Linked DNA regions of Homo sapiens: regions 2, 3, 4 and 5 are each linked to region 1. Evidence: promoter capture Hi-C in human tissues and cell types (Jung and others, 2019). All regions are on one chromosome and are shown on one strand. The core of a region is centred on a gene start or on the middle of the fragment in contact, and the rest is flanking DNA. Distances in the headings are between cores, read along the strand shown.

What was found. The method cuts DNA at HindIII sites, captures the fragments that hold promoters and counts their contacts. A contact is called where the count stands out against the background at its distance.
Region 2: a contact is called between a fragment that was not itself captured here and the fragment with the promoter of BICC1 in region 1, in 1 of the 25 tissues and cell types used here (dorsolateral prefrontal cortex).
Region 3: a fragment that was not itself captured here is called in contact with the fragment with the promoter of BICC1 in region 1 in 1 of the 25 tissues and cell types used here (H1 embryonic stem cells).
Region 4: a fragment that was not itself captured here is called in contact with the fragment with the promoter of BICC1 in region 1 in 1 of the 25 tissues and cell types used here (dorsolateral prefrontal cortex).
Region 5: a fragment that was not itself captured here is called in contact with the fragment with the promoter of BICC1 in region 1 in 2 of the 25 tissues and cell types used here (mesendoderm cells and thymus).

Annotation. Positions count from the first base shown.
Region 1 is chr10:58,511,020-58,514,916 of GRCh38, reverse strand. BICC1 (BicC family RNA binding protein 1) reads right to left here and starts at 2,045. Exons shown (of 21, transcript NM_001080512.3): 1 at 1,584-2,045. The coding sequence starts at 1,773. It overlaps LOC124902427 (a long non-coding RNA gene), which reads left to right and starts at 2,865. Exons shown (of 2, transcript XR_007062147.1): 1 at 2,865-3,257. The HindIII fragment of the contact is 7,114 bases long and covers 1-3,897 here.
Region 2 is chr10:58,942,278-58,946,154 of GRCh38, reverse strand. No RefSeq gene overlaps it. Among named protein-coding and RNA genes, the nearest start is that of LINC00844, 55 kb to the left of the region's middle. The HindIII fragment of the contact is 3,652 bases long and covers 607-3,877 here.
Region 3 is chr10:58,961,931-58,965,930 of GRCh38, reverse strand. No RefSeq gene overlaps it. Among named protein-coding and RNA genes, the nearest start is that of LINC00844, 36 kb to the left of the region's middle. RefSeq lists enhancers at 1,455-1,954, 1,955-2,456. The HindIII fragment of the contact is 6,472 bases long and covers 1-4,000 here.
Region 4 is chr10:58,787,756-58,791,651 of GRCh38, reverse strand. BICC1 (BicC family RNA binding protein 1) reads right to left here. Exons shown (of 21, transcript NM_001080512.3): 6 at 3,229-3,282; 7 at 2,196-2,390; 8 at 1,719-1,970. Among named protein-coding and RNA genes, the nearest start is that of LINC00844, 210 kb to the left of the region's middle. The HindIII fragment of the contact is 4,619 bases long and covers 1-3,837 here.
Region 5 is chr10:58,767,997-58,771,725 of GRCh38, reverse strand. The region is part of intron 3 of BICC1 (BicC family RNA binding protein 1); the gene reads right to left. Among named protein-coding and RNA genes, the nearest start is that of LINC00844, 230 kb to the left of the region's middle. The HindIII fragment of the contact is 6,609 bases long and covers 1-3,729 here.

The DNA.
Region 1 (3,897 bases), core at 796-3,295:
TGCTACTATCAGTTCATTCCAAACGATCTCACAATATATGCCTGACATAAATTTAATATTTTGTTTTATAATCATAAACTAGGCAAAAAGAACCACAGAACAGACGAAATAACTGAAATGAGTTACTGAAATGCAACTGGGGCTTTAATTTCCAAATCTATCTTATAACGGTCTTACTTGAAGAGTTTATCACAGAAGTAACTGTCCTCAAAAGTTACATAATTTGAGAAAAAAAGAGAGGGAAGGGGAGAGACAGAGAAAGACATGACACACATTAGGGATGTTTGTCAATAAAAATAAGCAACAAGGGAGGAAAGCCTGTAGCACATCCAAAAAACGTCTGCCAAACACTCTTGCTATTTGTTTCCACCAAGTTATTGTTTTGGAAAACATGTTGTTCTCTCTTAAAATAACCTGCTTAATTGTTCTAAAAAGCCACTGCATTTCCACAGAGGGCTAAATCATTCCCATACTGCGATGCATTGACTGATAAAGTCAAAGTAAGTTATGCATAAAGCCACAAATAACGTTTGAAAAACTCCAAACTCCTCCATGATAAAAGAACACTAGCTACTGAATGAATCTTCACCAGCGCCCTAAGTGAGACTAACGCCTGGTCCCGTACACGTATTTTAAGAATAACAGTCATTCAAACTAACTCATTTCTCTCTTTGGATGTGGGAAATGAGCCACATCGGTGGCTACAGGTAGGCTAGTAATTATCTGTTTTAAGAAAGGTCAAAATGACCTTGGACGTTTTGACGTTCACTCCAACACTCGTATTATAAATCAGAATCTGTTTTCGGTCCAGTATGGTTGAAGATTTTCTACCTGGGAAAGTCCCAAAGAAATTAAAGAGTTAAAAATAATTCTAAGTTGTGAAAGACAAAGTCAGACACCCATAGCATAGGAAGATTTTTATGGACTGAATGTAACTCAAGATGTGTTTTATAAGCCTGTCAAGAGATGAACACTGTCCTCAAACACAGCAGCACTGCCTCCACACTCCCCCCTCGCTTTGGCTGCTCACCCCGATCCTGGCCCTCCTTGACCACAGGGGTGGGGGCGGGAGCTCCTGTCTTAAGCCTTGACATCTGCAGAGCGTTTCCCAATAGTGAGACAAGGCCCCTCAGCTGGAGGAAGTGGATACTGACAAGGGGAGAGAGTGAAACAGACGGAGAGAGACAGAACTCGAGGCTGCCAGGGAATGGGGAGGGTCACGCATACTCTGTGCGGCCCGAGTGGTCCGGATGGCACAGCCCAGGTGTCCGGGCTAAAGTTGGCATCTCCAAAGTCCAGAACGCAACTTGGGCGCGCCAGTACAAACTCGGCCTTCGGCTTTTCTGAAGCCAGTCAAGTTCGCACAGGGCCCCCAGCGCCTGGAAATCTGAGAGGCGTGGAAGGGTGGGGAGTCCCGCGAAGTCTCCAGTCCCTGGGTGTCCTCCGGCTCCGCGGGGGAGCGGGCCTGGAGCTAAACCGGCCGGCCGTAGGCTGGAGTAGCGGGCGCCGGAGCGCGCGGTGGGGATGTCCGAAAAGGAGTTAGAGGCTCAGTCGGAGAGTCCGAGAACACGAGGGATGCCTACCTTGTAACATGGCCTCAAGTTTCTTCCTGTCCACGCGGAAGCGCTCCTCGCTCCACTCCGGGCTGTGCAGGGTCGCCCCGGCGACCAAGTCGTCCTCGGAGCCGGGCACTGGGGAGTCGGTGCTGCGCTCGCTGTTGGAGCCGGGGTCCGACTGCGCCGCCAGGTAGCCGGGCTCTCCCTGGGCGGCCATGGTGGGCGCGCAGCGCTCGGGCTCCCGCTGCCGCCGCCGCTCTGCCTGCGCTGCCGCCTCCGCTCGCCGGCCGGGCTCAACTGGCTCCCAGCGCCGCGGCGCTAGCTCGTCCCCCTGCAGCCGCCGACGCCACCGCCAACGCCGCCGCCGCCACTGAGCCCCCGGCGCATCCCAGCCCCGGGCGCCGCCCACGCCACCCGCCACCCCGGGTCGCGGCCCCGGTCCGGGTCCAGTGGCTGCGCCGCCCCCCGCCAGCAACGCCCGCGCGGAATGAGCGCGCCGCGCTGCCCGCGCCTCCATCCGCAGGGCTCGGCGCCCCCTCCCCGCCCGCCGCCCCTACAGCCGCGCGCTCATTGGCCCGGCCAGCCCACGGGGAGCCGCGGCGGGCGGGCGGCCCCTGGCGCTCACACACTCGCGCGCGCACACACACACCACGTACACACTGCCACTTTCTGCACTTACACGTATAAATCCTTTCCATACATGCACTTTCATAGCTCCTCAAACACACACACTCCTGAACGCACATGGAGTATCCACGTAATTCCTGTCTACACACACACATCACACACACTACTACTTTTCTGCACTTACACATACAAATCTCTTCCCCCTACATGCTCTCATAATCCTCCAAACACACAAACACAAACACGCCAAGTTCAAGCACAGCAGAGTCCTGAACGCACACTAAGCGCATACACAATTCCGCTGTTTACATACATACCCTACACCCTGAAACTCACAGCCCCAGTTGGTTCCACAAGCTCGAACGTGAGGAAGAGGAAAAAGAAGGCTTGGAGAAGAAATCATGCCCGTCTTTCGCAGGCATCGCCATGGACGTGGCTCGCATGTAGTTCATACCTCCAGGAAGGGCTCAAACCCAGACACCTCGTCTCCTCCCAGCAAAGTGGCCCGCTGCACGAGAGGTGGACAAGAGGCTTACTCTTTTTATTCTGAGAAAGGGAATTTTTTTTTTTCTTGAATGGAGTAAGGAAGGAATTGTTTTCTCTGTGATTCTCAAGGAATGGACTCAGCAGACTTTTTTTTTTTTTTAAGTAGAAAAGGGGCTCGGAGATCGCTGTGTTGGCGAGCTGGATCCAGCTGGCACGTGGGCAGGGCTGTCTTGTCAGGGACTGAGGGCTTTTCTCTGTTTTCAAGGTCAGTCTCTGACAGATGACGGCCAGTAACCTCTGAGCCTCACTGCCGAGGGCCAGCCCACCCACGGCCTCTGTCAAGCTTGGATATGAAGCGCGGGGGAAGAGGAGACTCGCTCGTACTGGGTGTGCCCTTGGAACTCTGTTTTCCCAGTTCACACAGATTCATAGCCTATTATTTTATGACCCAAAGTACAAAGACTTGCGGGGAGGAATGATGGGGATAGCAGTTTGTCACTGCGCCACAGAAGGAGGCTGCCTGGCTCACATGTAGGAAGAGCCATATCACTGGCACAGGCCTCTGGATAATCATGGAATATGCTGAAGGTAAATCAAAATTATTTCAGGTTCAGCTGCCTAGTTAACAGGAATTGACCCTGTGATGGGTACAGATGAGGAAACTGAGACCGTGGGAAATAAAGTAACTTGACTAAGGTTGTCCAGCAGCAGATAATACAGCCAATTAATCAGACCCAGGTCTGTGGGTCTTTATATAAAGTCTTACCTTTTTGAGCGGAGACCCCTCCTGCCCAGAGTCACCTCCTGAAGAACTGAGAGCATCTGCACACTTAACTGCTCTGATTCACCACCATGTGTTCCTTTTATAAACTTGTTAATTACTGTTAATTTCTATCCAAGGCACTAGTTTCAGCACCCAAAGGGTTTATGTAGGAGCATTCCCACTGTTTTCCATCAGGGACATTTACTGTGTTTTTCTATCAACAAATATTTATTGGGACCCTACTATGTACTTGGCACTGTTAAGCCCAAGGAATAGTAAGCAAAGACAGACACATCCCTGTACTCCCTCCTGGAGCTGAAATTCTAATGAGAAGGAATACTGACCAAAAAATAAATCACAAATATAAAATCATGCCCGCAGTAAGCATTACAAACAAGAGACTCAAGATATGAGAAAACCTATGATAGAGTAATTGGATTCAGTCAGAGAGGTCAGTGAAGGCTT
Region 2 (3,877 bases), core at 1,183-3,682, 430 kb before region 1:
CCCTCATGCAACCTGAAGCTAACTATTATTTGATAAGGACTTAGTTCAAGCATCCCTTCCTCTAGAGAGCCTTTTCTAAATACCCAAATTAATCTCCCTCTTCCCCAAACCTAGGGTAGACTCCATTGCTCCCATCTCTATGCTCCCATCACACCGTGTGCAGATGCCCATTTCAGCACTGTATTGAAAGTGTCTGTCTACAGACTGTCACCCCTTCTTGGTATGGATACCCCTTAAGGTCTGGACTCCTACTGAAGTGCCCATCAGTGGGTCTTTGATGAAAATACGGATGTGAACAAAGGCTTGGGGCAACACACATCTTTAATTATGTTCCCAAACCAAATGGGATAACAAATATGAAATACTCCCAATTTACTAGCAATATTACATTTTATTAATGGAGCATTTTTATTTGTATTTTTTTACTTTTCAAAACACTTGTTCCATACAGCCCTACAGTAGTTTTAGCTTAACAGTGGGGGATATGTTCCAAGACTCTCAGTGGATGCCTGAAACCATGGACAGTACAAAACCCTACAAATATGTTTTTTCTTAAACATGCATACCTATGATAAAATTTAATACATCAATTAGATATATTAAGAGATTAACAATAGTATATAATAAAAAAGACAGTTATAACAATATATTGTTAATAAAAGTTATCGGAATATGATCTCTCTCTCTCTCTCCCTCTACATATCTTCTTGTACTGAACTCTTTTTGTGATGATGTGAGACGATGAAATGCTTGCGTGACGAGATAAAGTGAGATTATGATGCATCATTTAAAACTTATAATTTTTCTAAATTATTTCTGGAATTCTCCATTTAATGTTTTCAGAACTGCAGTTGACTATGGGTAACTGAAACCATAAAAAGGTGAAACTGCAGATAAATGGAAACTATGGTATTTGGCTTTGAACTCCATTAGGAGACAAGATACCACCACCCTCTACATCTGGAGGCATCTGAAAACACAGAACATTCTTATGACCAGATGTTTTCCTACTGTTTATTTTGAAATTCAAAGTTGGAGAAGAATTAAACTTAGCTACTTTGTTTCCCAGAGGAATTTCTTCATTCTGTCCCAATTCTGATGGCTACCAGTGCTCGTCTTTTCAATGCAGACTCTCTTCTCCATTCAATGTTTCAGACTCCCAGGGTATATTCAGCAGACTATTTGACCCACACTGCCTAGGATTTACTAATCCTATTGACTCTTACAAATGACTGACTTGACCCTGTACTTGGGGAAATTCTCTGGCTATCTGCCTACACTCAGGACACTTAGGATTTACAACGGATTCCTGGCTGTGCATCCACCAACCACATTGAGAATCTATCTCCAGACTTATCTCCTTCACATGTGTTAGTCAGCTTTTGACTTGATGATGCTTGATCGTACATACTGAATGAGAATGTAAAGCCAAACCTCTTCTTAACACAGGTTGTATGAGCAGCAACAAAAAAAGAAAAAGAAAAAACTGGCAGAAACAGAAGGAAGAGTATGGCTTACAAAAAGAGAGTTCAAGGAAAAGGAACTACTGCTTCTCTGTGCCTGAGGCTCAAGAAAGGTAACAGAGATCAGGACTAGGAACAAAGAGGGAGTAAAGGAGAGAGAAAAGTACTTTGGCAAAATGTTTACATGGGTCTTTTTCTGCCATTGACACGCTATATTACCAGATTCCTTACAACATGCACATTCTGTTCAGCACTTGTCTAATACATGATATGATGTGAAGGTTCTTTCATTTCCACTCCTCAAAAGATACAGGGAGGGCAGAGAGAGCTGAACACCCTGCTATCTCAAGAGATATAATGAATGTTCTAGAATAAGGGGTTCCATGGTCAGAAAAAAATTAAGAAAAGGAAACACTGGATTAAGCAAAACAAAATTAATCAGGCTTCTTTGCTGCAAGACTTAGGAACTTTATCATCCTAACATGTGCTAAGATTCAAAGAAAGAGTTTATGTTGCAAACTCACTTGGCCAGAAACAATTTTGTCAAAGGAACATCTATTAATATCTTGGTGTTCAGTTTGAAAAACACTCCCCTAAACATTCCTCCAAAGCATATAATACCTGAAATGTAGTAGGCTTTCAATAAATGTTTGACCAGTGAATGAGAGCCAAAATTTTCAAAATGACCCAACAAAACCCTTTACCACAGTGTTTCTCTATCAGAAAATGCAAATAGATTTCATGAACGTATTTTTCTCAGGTCAACAAAATGTTTACAGGCAGTAAATACACTACTTTGTTCCAAAATCTACTGCCAACTAGTCAAAGAAAGTATAATATCAATTATACCCAACCCAACACTCTTTACATTTTCAGTTGGCTTGTTTTCATCTCAGGGAGGAGGATAAAATGATGTCAAATAGAAGGCATTTGAGGAGGTACTTGTAAGAACCCAGCAGCAGCCCCCTAGCAAGTCTCAACATGTGACAAGAGGAATGTCATCCAAAATAACTCTAGACAAAAATGCAACAAAAGTCTGGCAGAGGCCAATTAATCAAGAGAAAAATCACAGAGAGCACTCAAGATCTTTGGCCCTACTTCTAGTCTTACTTTTGGGACTTTCAAATTATTTGTTTGAAACTAATCCCTGTGAATGACTATTGAACCTTCCCCAATTTTCTGAAGACAAGAGATTCTTTCCCACTTTGTCAAACTTTGTCAAAAAACAAAATTGTGATTAAGCAACAAGCTTGAAGCATTCTTCTACCATTGTATCATCTGGTTGTCTAACCGCATTGGTTGGTTGGTTTGGTTTCCTATCAATATAGCTTGAGTAACATGAACAGTCAATATTTTCCCCTCTGAGTATTTTCCCAAGGTTTTTCTAACTGTGTTACTACATTTCTTTATAGTTCAAAATTTTTTCTGCTCTGTTCTTTCCTAGATGGCCATAATAAAAAACAATACCCATTTAATGTCTTCCCCTACTTCAGAAAATTTTATTGTTTTCCTCTGTGATTTTGCTCCACCTACTTGGACGTTTATACCAACAATATAATATCATAATTATATGCTACCTTGTTTTGTGTTCTAACAGTTATTATTCAGGTCTCCCCAGCATGTCTGATTGTCCTGCAGTGCCTTCAGGATGAAGTGCAGATGGCTTTGTTCCAATATGGGAGCCTGGATGTTGTCATCTTAATACTCCATCTGATAACAGGTCAGTTTTATCCCTGACACTGGTAGATTGTACCCTAGTACTCAGGAGACTTGGCATGAAAGGAGAGTCAGTAGGAAGAACAAAACCAGAAGCCAGGTTGCAGAAACTGGGACACATAGGAGTTGGGATAGCTAGGACTCTGGATCAATATGAGAGTACATTTGTCATCACTGGGCAGCAGGCTCACATATCTGGGAAAGTAGCAAAGCTGTCTTTCCTCTCCCTACTTCCTAGAATCTCTCCACCCTCATCCCATACTCTTCCCTCAGTTGTTCCCTGCACCCATGCCTTGCCTCACTGCAATCTCTGCTTCCCAGATTCAAGCAATTCTCCTGCCTCAGCCTCCTGAATAGCTGGGACTACATACATGCACCACCACACCCAGCTAATTTTTGTATTTTTAGTAGAGACAGGGCTTCATTATCTTGGCCATGCCGGTCTCGAACTCCTGACCTCAAGAGATCCACCCGCTTTGGCCTCCCAAAGTTCTGGCATTACAGGTGTGAGCCACTGCACCCAGCCCAGGCGAGGTTATTTTGAACTGGCATAGAAAAAAGCACAATTAACTTAACTTAGTAATCTAGAGATCACAAGTGAAGGAAATAAGACAGAGGGCAGCTCAGAGATTACCTTTCCTTACTAACCCCGTCTCATGCACCTATGCCTGCTACACCAACCAGGCTGCTCACCCTGA
Region 3 (4,000 bases), core at 1,353-3,852, 450 kb before region 1:
GACTAGAAAGAGGAAAATAAAGTTAGTTTTGGGGTCTCAGGAACACTTCCTGCAGGGGCAGTTCTCAAACATGAGTTCTCAAACGTTAGGATCACCTGGAGGACTTTTAAAACACATCCTGCTGGCCCTCACCCTAGAGTTTCTGATTCAATAGGTATGGTTTGAGACCTGAGAGTTTGCATTTCTAGCAAGTTCCCAGGCCATACTAATGCTGCAGGTCTGGAGACCATGCTTTGAGAACCACTGTCTTAGAGGAACTGAAGTCTCAGCCTTTGCTACCCAAAGTATGGTCTGCAGACGAACAATATGAGCCTGCAGCATGAGCCTCACCTAGGAGCTTATTAGAAATGCAGAATTTCAAGTCTTATCCTAGATGTACTCAGTCAGAATCTGCATCAAGATTACCAGGTAATACTTATACACAGTAAAACACTGGTTCTCAAACTTGCTTGCACATTGAAATCACCTGGGGAGTTTAATCAAATCCCCATCCCTGGATTCCATTCCCAGAGATTCTGATTTAATTGGTACAGGGGATGAAAAGCTCTCTGAGACGTTTCTAATGTGTGGTATACTTTAAGAACCACTGACCTAAGCTAAATGCATCCTGGGTAAGAGCGCCACAAAGAAAGGCAGGAAGAGTGTTACAGGCCAACAGAATGTGCAAAGGCTCAGTGGCAAGACAGAACAAAGTGGTTTAGTGAAAGGAGGGTGGGGGTGCACTGAGCTCAGAGTGTAGTTAGAGAGAGGGAAAGTGATGGGTTTTGAGGCTAGAGGTTTTTCCCTGATGATCGAACACACTCAGATTCGCATTTTAAAAATGAACAGTTTGTTGGCCATGTGGAAATAAGCCTAGGGGTGTGGAAACAATGTGCCTGGTGTTAAGGTTGAAATTTTGACTGTATAGAAACATTTATTGTTGCTCTTACTGAGAATTATTCATTTCCAGGAACAGTGCTCTTTAAACTAAAGATAAGGGCTAAAGGATAGGGGTGGAGGCAAAGAAAAGCAGTGCTGAAGGGTAGCAGAGTATGCCACCCCAAAATATGCCACTTTAACATAAGGATTATTTTGAGCTGAAGCTTCATTGAGAAGAAGCAGATACAAGAAAAGCTCTCTGCCTAAAAGCAGGACATAAGTTTGTAAAGGTGTTCCCCCTCCCCTCTCTACCTGAAAGGACAGAAATTAATCACTGAAGACAACTCTAGACCTTTATCAGCCCAGAGGCAGACCTTGCTAAAAACAACCCTTATTTTCCATTAGTTCCCCCAATATATTTACCTTTCCACAATTTACCAGTGCCTAGAAGCTCTAAGTCCTTTTCCCTTGTCTTGTCCCTTCTCTCCTAATTCATTGTTCTCAAGATGCTATAGAAGCTGAAATTTTAACTACCCCTTTAAGTCACTCGCTACTGAGTACCCCCATGGCCATGGGCATTGAATATACTAACAAACTTCTGTTTTGTTTTGTTTTGTTTTCTAGTTAACCTGACTTTTGTCAGTCTCATTTACAGGCCTGCAGAAGGAGAACCAAACAGGGTAGAGGAAGAAGATGTTGTTTCCTCTCCTGTGCTACCAACCAATCTATAAGGCTTCATTTTGGCACTTTGGCTTTCACTGTTTGATTTAACCAATATTTACTGAGCATTATGTACCAAGCCCACTGCTGTGGAAGCTGAATCCAGATCTCTGATGCCCTCCCTTAGCAAAGAGTTGAAAGTTGGGGGAACTCAGACAACAAGTGATTTTTCTAAAGAGCATTAGTTTGAGTCTGGTTGAAAATTTGACAGTGCCGTTTAATGGGAGGATTCTGTGCCATCCAACTCCACTTAAGCCCTTAGCTAAGCCATCAAATGGCCCCATTCATGCTGCAGCTGCAGAATTCCTGAGGCCATGCCAGTGGGCCCCAGGAATGCAAACGAGGGCTCGGTCTTGGCTTCTGACACCCTGTGAGCTTTGAGGAAGAACAAGTAGGCATTTGTTAGGGGAAGGCCCACAAAGGCACCACAGGAGAGGGGATTGAATGCCCCATGGGATTCCAGGCCAAATGCAAAAGGCTGGTGTAATCTCTGCCACCACAGCTTGTGTGACCTCACTTGCTCGCTGGCTGTGGGGGCAGCTGATAGCCCAGCCTGCTGAGGCAGGGTCCCTAAACAGAGCAGGGGTGGCAGCTCTTCAGGAATACAGTCTGTACTCTATTACCCACCAGGTAAGGATTATGTGAAGCCAAGCCATGTAAAGGAAGCAAAGACTTTGAAAGGCAAGAGGAGGATAAAAGCATTTTTTTTCCTGCAATCTCTGGGACATTCCTCCCATCTGTACCCAAGAGGGAGGTAGTGAAAAAAGAACATGGGTTGCAGGTAGAATAACCTTAAAAGGCTTACAGAAAGCAGCAGAAAATCAAACCATTTCTAGAACATTCTTTGTGAAATTCAGTTCTCCCCATAACTCAGATATTGTCAATTTGCTCTTGAAGTTCGATTTTGCTGTAGTTGCCAGTGATATGGTTGCTTATATTACCCAAAGGCTATGTTCTGACATCATGGAGCAGCACCCCCAATGGCACTCTGGGTATTAGCACCTTTACATATTATATGGTGACTTAGACTATGCATACAGAACAGAATTACTCAGCCTCAGCACTGTTGACACTTTGCACAACGTAATTCTTTGTTGTAGGGGCTGTTCTGTGCATTTTATGTGTTTAGTAGCATCTTTGGCCTCTATTCAGTAGATGCCAATAGCGCCCCTCCTGGTCATGCTGTTGAAAATATCTCCAGGAATTGCCACCTGTTCTCTGGGGACAAAATTGCCCTCAGTTAGGAACCATTGGTATAGAGGAAAGGTGGAAGAAGATTTTGTTTTAAAATCCTTCAAGAGAACAAAAGAGGAATTGTTAGTCTTTGTTGCTTACAATTAGTAGTTTCCCTACAGGAATGAAGTCTTCAATACCCGTAGAGTTGCATAGGATTTTTACCTTCAACATAAAATAGAAGTCCTACATAATAAGAAAACAGCAAGCCACAGTTACCATTGGTTGATTCAGTCAAATCAGCCCAACAGTTTGTTGATGTTCACTGGACATTGTCTTCGCTTCAACTATATGCTCACTATTGTTCTAGGTGCTCGTGCAGTCCACACACTGTCGGAATAATTTGATTAAACAATAATGCCCAAAAGATTGCCTTTGGGAGGGCTTTAATGGTGTTACGCAGGAAAATAATGGAGCTGTAGAATACAGAAGTTATTTTCAGCTGGACCCTGAGGTGGAAATGACTTTTTCCATGCCCCAAAGTTTCAAAATACTTCTCTCATTGTCATAATGCACAAAATATGGCTGATCACACAGAGAAAGCATAACTGTGAAAGTGAACCCAGATATAAGAATTTAGGAGCCGGGAGAGACAGAAAAACAGAAAGACAGGCAGATCTACAATAACAAGCAGCCAACTTAATTAAGAAGAATATCAAGCAGTCTGCATTTTAGAAAGCAGAAAACAAAATCCTACAGAAGCAAGAGATGAAGCCTTGGTCTTTTGAACAACTTGAAAAATTATATCAGCAAAAATGTAAGAATATTCTCTGAAATGTAAACTACAAGGGCAGAGATTCTTTCTTCTCTTTTGTTCATATCTTTACCTAGGCCTTTCTCCCTAGTGTCTAGAACAATGTCTGGTGCTGGTAGGTACTCAATAAATATTTGTTAAATGAATTCTGCAATTATTAATAACGGACCTGAAATAAGAAACCTAAGTGTTGTCTATACTCTATGGGATCCACAGAGAAGAACTAGACTATGTTAGCACTAAGATTATTACCTCAAAATGCTCAAAGACCAGTAAGCATATGTCTACATAACTCATGAGATAACTTGAAGGGGATTCTAATGACCAATTTTAAACAAATGGAGGGGGCAAATGAAAATATTGGATATGTACATTGAATAAAAACTAATCCATAAGTTCACAGTGATAAGGAGAAAAAAGAGAGATGGAACAAAA
Region 4 (3,896 bases), core at 279-2,778, 280 kb before region 1:
TCTCCTGTCTCAGCCTCTTGAGTAGCTGGGATTACAGACCTTCACCACTATGCCCGGCTAACTTTTCTGTGTATTTTTAGTAGAGATGGGGTTTCACCATATTGGCCAGGCTGGTCTTGAACTCCTGACCTTGTGATACGCCTGCCTCGGCCTCCCAAAGTGTTGGGATTACAGGTGTAAGCCACCGCGCCCAGCCAGGAAGTGATTTTTATAAGAATAGTGCTATACAAAATGGTGATGGTATTTAAAATACGGGTTAAAGCCTTTTAATTTCTCCTTCAGTTATTTCAATGTTGTGCAATAATATGAGTCATTATTTTTGGCAGGTATGGTCAAAGTATAAATGTGCATTAATAACTGTAGAGAATATTTGAAAAATTTCACTAAACTAAAAAATAACATCTAAAGAACTTGTAAAGCAGAAAAAAAATGAAGATTACAACAATTCTTGGATATAAATATAAATCTGACTTGTAGTACAGTATATTAAAAATAACCTGATAAAATAAGCTCGGCTAAAAAAAATCATGACAAATTTCTTAAAATCGTGGATTACAATCTTACTGATTCCAACAAGTTCTTGTCTGTCAGAGGAATGGAATCAACAATAAAAACTTAGATTTTCTGAAAGTTTCTCAAAAATAAACTCTGCAAGTTAATAATAGTAAATGTCACACCTGAGGCTTACTGATTCAAATGCCACTAAAGGTCAAGCACTGAATGAGAGAATACAATGGTGTTTTTAATACAAATATTTGTAAGCCCAGCATCATGTCCATCCATTTTGTTACTACATTATCAACCCATACACTGGGATAGTTTATTTCATTCCATTTCATTTATTTCATTTTTGAAATGCAGTGCAGTGGTGCCATCTGGGCTTACTGCAACCTCTGCTTTCTGGGTTCAAGCAATTCTCCTCCCTCAGCCTCCTGAGTAACTGGGATTACAGGCACCTGCCACCGCATTGGCTAATTTTTATATTTTTAGTAGAAATGGGGTTTCACTATGTTGGCCAGGCTGGTCTTGATTTTGACCTCAAGTGATCTGCCCACCTTGGCCTCCCAAAGTGCTGGGATTACAGGCATGAGGTACCGCACCTGGCCGAGGGGTTTTAAACAAATATGGGAAGGATAGAAATATTGCAATTATAAATTAGAAGTAGTAAAGTAGTATTGAATTATAATATATAACTTTGCTTTTCTTCCTTCAATAAGTGACGCTCGAATTTGTGACTTAAATAGTATTTTTTAATTGGATCAAAGATTTATGAAATGTACAAATGTTTTGGGCTGACAAAATTTGTCTTTGATGGTGAAATTTAAATAGTATTTTTACTTTTCTGTTTAAACAGAGGACTTTTTTTTTTTTTGCCAAATACAAACTGCACACTAATATTACAGGTCAGATGAAAACAGTCACCTTCCATCCTTGCCACAAAATGCAGTCAATTATTTCACTATAATTCTCTTCTGTGTTTAGTCTAAGTTAAAAAGAAAACACTGAAATAAAATTACATATGCAATGAAATTAAACCTGTTGAGGCACTATGAACCTTATTACTCTTCCAGTTTATTTCCTTTTAGCAAGAAACTTCCTTATTTGACGAGGCTTCCGAAGTGCTTTCCTAAATATCACATTAGTACAGTGGATGGAAAAACATGCACTGAATCCAAAGAGGTTTAAAAAAATTGTAACACTTATTTCAGTAACCTTACCATGAGATATTGCCTTGCAAGACAGACAGACTCAATGGTGCCCTGGAGGTAGACGGTAGATTTCTTTTGTGGATTACTGGGATCAGGAAAGTGGATCTGAGCACCTGTTCTCTGCATGATATGTTTGATGTTGCTCCCATTTCGACCCATCATAAAGAGATGATGTTGAGCTGCAATATCTAGTTGTGTGCTCACAGGAATAGCTGATGCTAAGCTCCCAGCAAGATGTTCTAACAGCATGGCAGTTCCTTCCTAAGAGAAAAGGGTGGGAAAGAAATAATCCTATACATTAACTGTTCATATACGGGGAAAGATTCTATTGCATTTCTAACAGCTATGGAAAAATACAGCATATTCTGCAAACCAAAATGTAGAACGAAGGAAAATTCTGGAAATCAAATTAGTCTAATATTCTTTAAAAATGAAACTCATGTAACTTGTACATATAGGATGTGCAGAATTATCTGAATAATTTACCTTCACAGCACTAGTGTTATTCTGAGACCCTCGTACTATGACAGTAGCACCATACATTCGGGAACGCTGTTTAAATGATACTGAAATATTGTACGTTTGTGATATATGCTGAATAGAGGGGGAATTAGGATCAGGAACCGGTTGAAGAATTCCAGCAATTGGTAGCTCAAACATCAGCACCAAAGGAAGCAGCTCCTAAAATGAAATGATGAGAATCCAAAGCAGAGAGTTAAAGCATTAGACATTCAGACATGTGTATCATTCATTGGTTCTTTTCTGAAGATAGATTTTAAAGCATAAACTGCCCTTATAGATATTAAGTTTAGCTACATTATATAAAGTTTTTTTTTTTCCTTTCTGTTTTTTGAGTCAGAGTCTTGCTCCGTCACCCAGGCTGGCATGCAGTGGTATCATCCCAGCTCACTACAGCCTCCACCTCCTGGGCTCAAGGATCCTCTCACCTTGGCTTCCTGAATTAGTGGCACTACAGGCATGTGCCACCATACCTGGCTAATTTTTAAAAATGTTTTGTAGAGACAGACAGGGTCTTGCTATGTTGTCCAGGCTGGTCACGAACTCCAGGCCTCAAGTGATCCTCCTGCCTTGGCCTCCCAAAGTGCTGGGATTACAGGTGTGAGCCACCACAACTGGCCTACAAGTGTTTTTAAATGATGGGAGCCTTTTGTGAAACCTGAGAGTTTCTAACTCACATTGCCTGTGGCATTTTTCCTTAGGCCTCTTTATGATCATTGAATAAAAACTAGAAAAACTGAGTCAGATAAAATCCAGAACATCTCTGAGAAACATTTTCAGTGAAAAAATTTTATAAATAACATAGAAACTCACTTTTTGAACATATACAATAAATATTTAGATAATGAATGCTAAGATAGACACTAAAATAACTTTTGCCACTATTTCCTACTGATTGAACATGATTCGGTTATAAAATGATAAATTATTATATTTTTAGTGCCTTATAATGCAAATGTTGCTGACATCAATTTACAATGTTAAAGTAATAAATAGTTACCCGAATTCTAACTCGGGCAGATTCTACTCCTGCTGGTTGTCCCGCTATAGATACCTATAAGAGGAGGAAAATACAAAGTTAGATTTATTTTAATCAAACTCACATCTCTTTTCCAGTTCATCTATATGCTTGCTACTAAAAGTGTCATCCAGGGACAAATACAGAGGTATTATCCAGAAGCTTGTTAAAAATAAAGGATCTCAGGCCCCCATCCAGACCTGCTTAATCAGAATTTGCATTTTAACGAGATCCTCAGGTAATTTGTGTCAACTGATCTGTTTCACCCACTGGACTTACTGAAAGCCCCACAGCCCCCAGGAGATCATCCTGCCCTCTTTATAATTACTCTTGTTCACTGCATTTTCTCCGTTTTGTTTAAGCTCTTTGCATACCAGATACTTATCAATATTCAATGACAGAGCTACACTAGGTTCTGAAAATAGTGAACATTTTCCATACCAGATGGTACACAATCATTGCTCCAACATCTACCTCGAGCTTACTTCTGAAATCTCCTGGGCATTCCCATGACCCACTGACTCAAGGTGTTAGTCTTGGCATTGTGGTGGGGGGTACAGGGGCTCCAGGACACTGTTCTTAGGGCCAATGGTCATGCCGTACCAGTTTTTAAATATTCTGAATATTGTCTTTGCTTTTTACTATAGCTT
Region 5 (3,729 bases), core at 1,099-3,598, 260 kb before region 1:
TAAAATTCACACTACAACCAAACCAAAATACTCACCATTGCACCAAAATGTCCTATAATTTCCTATCTTGATGCTTCTGTTCCTGAAACCACTGGATACTGTACTATTATTTTGGCTCCATCAGTCCAATCCTCACCACATTAAGGTTAACACAAATGTCATGTTTTGTCAGGCCCCTCCAGTGCAAAGTAAATCTCTACCTCCGCTGGTTTCCCGTGACACTGCTTGTTCCCTTAAAAGGCCTATTACATGCTACCCCATTATCCATATACCTGCTTTCATCAGTCTGTAGGCCCTGTGATCTAATGGGAGACACTGTGCCCAGTTTTTATACCCCTCACAAAACAGACTATGTATCAAGTTTTAGAACACAAGCATTAGATAACTATCTGGATTTCACTAGAGTGACTGATATCTATTTCCTCATAATTTTTGTGCCTTTATTCCCCCTTCCTCTATATTAAAAATGTCATCCCCTTAGCATATCCATGACAGCCCTTCAGACTCTGGCACAGCCACCAACTGTTACATTCTCAATCACTTTTTCTTTGGGCAATCAATCACCCTACTTCTCTCAGTGGGTCCTTCTGTGAACTCACTCTAAGTCAGGCAACTTTAATTTTTTGAATCCTCAATCTCTAGCATAGGCTATGGAATAAAGTAGGTGTCCATAGAAATAGATTGTTGTAAGGATTAAATCATAGTAAGTAAGATAACATAATGGGCTTAGCAGTGTCTTTGACACAGTAAATACTCCATAAATGTTAGTTATTAGTAACTAAATGAAGGATTACGACAATAGTTACCATTTCAGCTCTTATTTCTTCTTATATCTTTTTAGAGATGTTTTCTGATTAGCAGAGCCCAACAGGTCTACATAATCTCCGAATCCCTCTGTCAAATCTGCCTAAGATGGCATTTATAACAGCATTGCAGACACATCACATGCTGGTGCAGAGTGACTTTTAACAACCAAAATCTCAGAGCCTTCTCATATCAACTGGTGTTCAGCCTTGTATTCCTCCCCTCCCTGGATTGTCCCATTAAGTATAAACAACCTTTTTATTATGGTTTTAGTATAAATTATAATAAAATGTCTTATATTAGTTGTATTATATCAGTGTTTGTGTTTTTTTTTATGGTAAATTCCTATTGGGTTGTTGGTACCATCCTCATAAAGAGATATATGATCAAGGGAATCCAAACATATAATTCTTATTCTCAGATTAGTAGAGAAATTTTTTTATACTATTTGACATTTGATATGTTTATTTTCCCTCACTTTTAAGGAGTATTAAGAATGTACAACATATCAGCATAATTACTTGGTGGAGAAAGGTTCACTCTGCAGTTTATGAGAAAGTAACATTTGATGAAAAGCAATAAAAAATGGGACATATTCACTTTGCCATCATCTCACTGTTTCTCAAAAAAAGAAAAAATGTCAGACTAGAATATTATGACTCAATAGAAATTCTAAAACCTGAAAAATCAATGAAGACTAATTTACCACAAATTCCTAACATTTCTACAATATATATTTTTTCACAGCAGAGCCTCTCAATGATACCTACATATTAGAAAATATAGCAAAGGAGTTTTATGCAACACTTCTAAATAAATTAAATGAACTTATATCTGCTAAAGATTATAAAAGATTACACCGAAATTTATAAAATTTTTATTTTGCAATTATAATTAAAACTGTAAGAACCGATTTTGACAGCTTTGACTGAACATATAATAAAGATATGTAAACCTGAAATATTTTGTAGCACTACTTTTACGCTTTTCAAATGTTCATGCTAATCAGTACGAAAGTCCACAACCCACACTCCTTTAATACTTCCTATTTTAATGACCATTTTTAGAAATTTAGGCCCAAAGTCTTGGATATTTTGAGTTCCCCTCAGCTCCCTAGCTGGTAAAATATAAATAAGGTACAGGTAGTAAAGTACACTATATGAATACAGTAGAATCTCAAAAGAAAAAGCCATTGATATTCATAAAAATATTTTCTAAACAAAAATAACAATAATTGATCCCTAGGTTTAGAACTGTTTATGTAAATATAGTTGTGCCAATAGTAGTTCAGACTGCACAATGAAAACATGGGAGAAACAGAAATCTTTAAATCAAACAATATATGGGAAATGGTACTTATATTAATAATGGGACAAAATCATTCCCTGATGAAATGTGGACATGAAAGGAGTGACTGCTTTGAAAATGGTGAGTTTTCAAGCTTAGGAGTGATTGACAAATAAAAAGTATATCTATTAAAGATATATACTGTGATTATATATATATATATATATATACACACACACACACACACACACACACACATACATTATAAAACTATTACCACAATCAACATATCTATCACTTCACATACTGACCTCTGTGCGTGTGCATGTGTGTGTGTGTGTGTGTGTGTGTTGAGAACATTTAAAATCTACCCTGTTAGCAAATTTCAAGGGTATATTATGAGCTATAGTCACCACACTGTACACTAGGTCTCCAAAATTTATTCATCTTATAAATGAAAGTTTGTATCCTTTGACCAACATCTCCCCATTGTCCTCACACTCAATCCCTGTTAGTACAATTCTACTCTCTGTTTCTATGAGTTCAACTTTCTTAGATTTGACATATAAGTTATATTATGCAGTATTTGTCTGTTTGTGTCTGGTTTATTTCGCTTAACATAATGTCCTCCAGGTTCATCCATGTTGTCACAAATGGCAGTATGTCCTTTTTTCTAAGGCTGAATAACATTCCATTGTGGACTTACTATTGCCATTTTGTTGTTTTCTGATTGTTTTGCAGTTGTTTTGTTTCTTTATACCTCTCTTGGTATGTTCCTTTGTAATTTCATGATTTTCAATAGTGGTATGGTTTGATTCTTTATCTTTTGTGTATCTACTATAGATTTCTGTTTTGATGTTACAATGGAGTTACACAAAACATCTTATAGTTATGAGTCTATTTGAAGCTGGTAACTCTACACTTTTACTCCCCATTTTTTTTGATGTTATGATTTACTTTTTTTATATTGTGTCTCCATTAACATTGGTGTAGCTATAGTTATTTTTAATACTTTTGTCTTTTAACATTTATACTAGAGTTAAAATGAATTTAAACACCATCATTAGGATATTGGAGTATTCTGAATTTGCCTACATATTTATTTTTACCAGGGAGTAAAAATACTATATTTTCATGCTACTAATTGGTGTCTTTTCATTTCAGCTTGAACAATTTCGTTTACCATTTCTTGTAAGGCAGTCTTAGTGGTGATGAACTCTCTTAGCTTTTGTTTGTCTGGGATAATCTTTATCTCTCCTTCCTTTACAAAGGACAGCTTTGCTGAGTAAAGTACCATTGAAAGACAGTTTTTTCCTTTCAGCACTTTGAGTATATCATCCCACTCCTTCGTGACCCGTGGGATTTCTGCTGAGAAGTCAACTGATAGTCTTATTGATAGTCTAACTGACAGTCTTCTTTTATGTGTGACGAGTCTCTTTTCTCTTGCTGTTTTCAAAATTCTCTGTCATTGATTATTGACAATAAGATTATGTGTCTTGGTGAAGTTTTATTTTGGTTGAACCTGCCTGAGGACCTTTGAGCCTCATAACCTGGATGTCCATATCTTTCCCATGATATGGGAAGTTTTCAGCCATTATTTATTTAAGTAAGATTTCTACCCTTTTCTTTCTTTTCTCC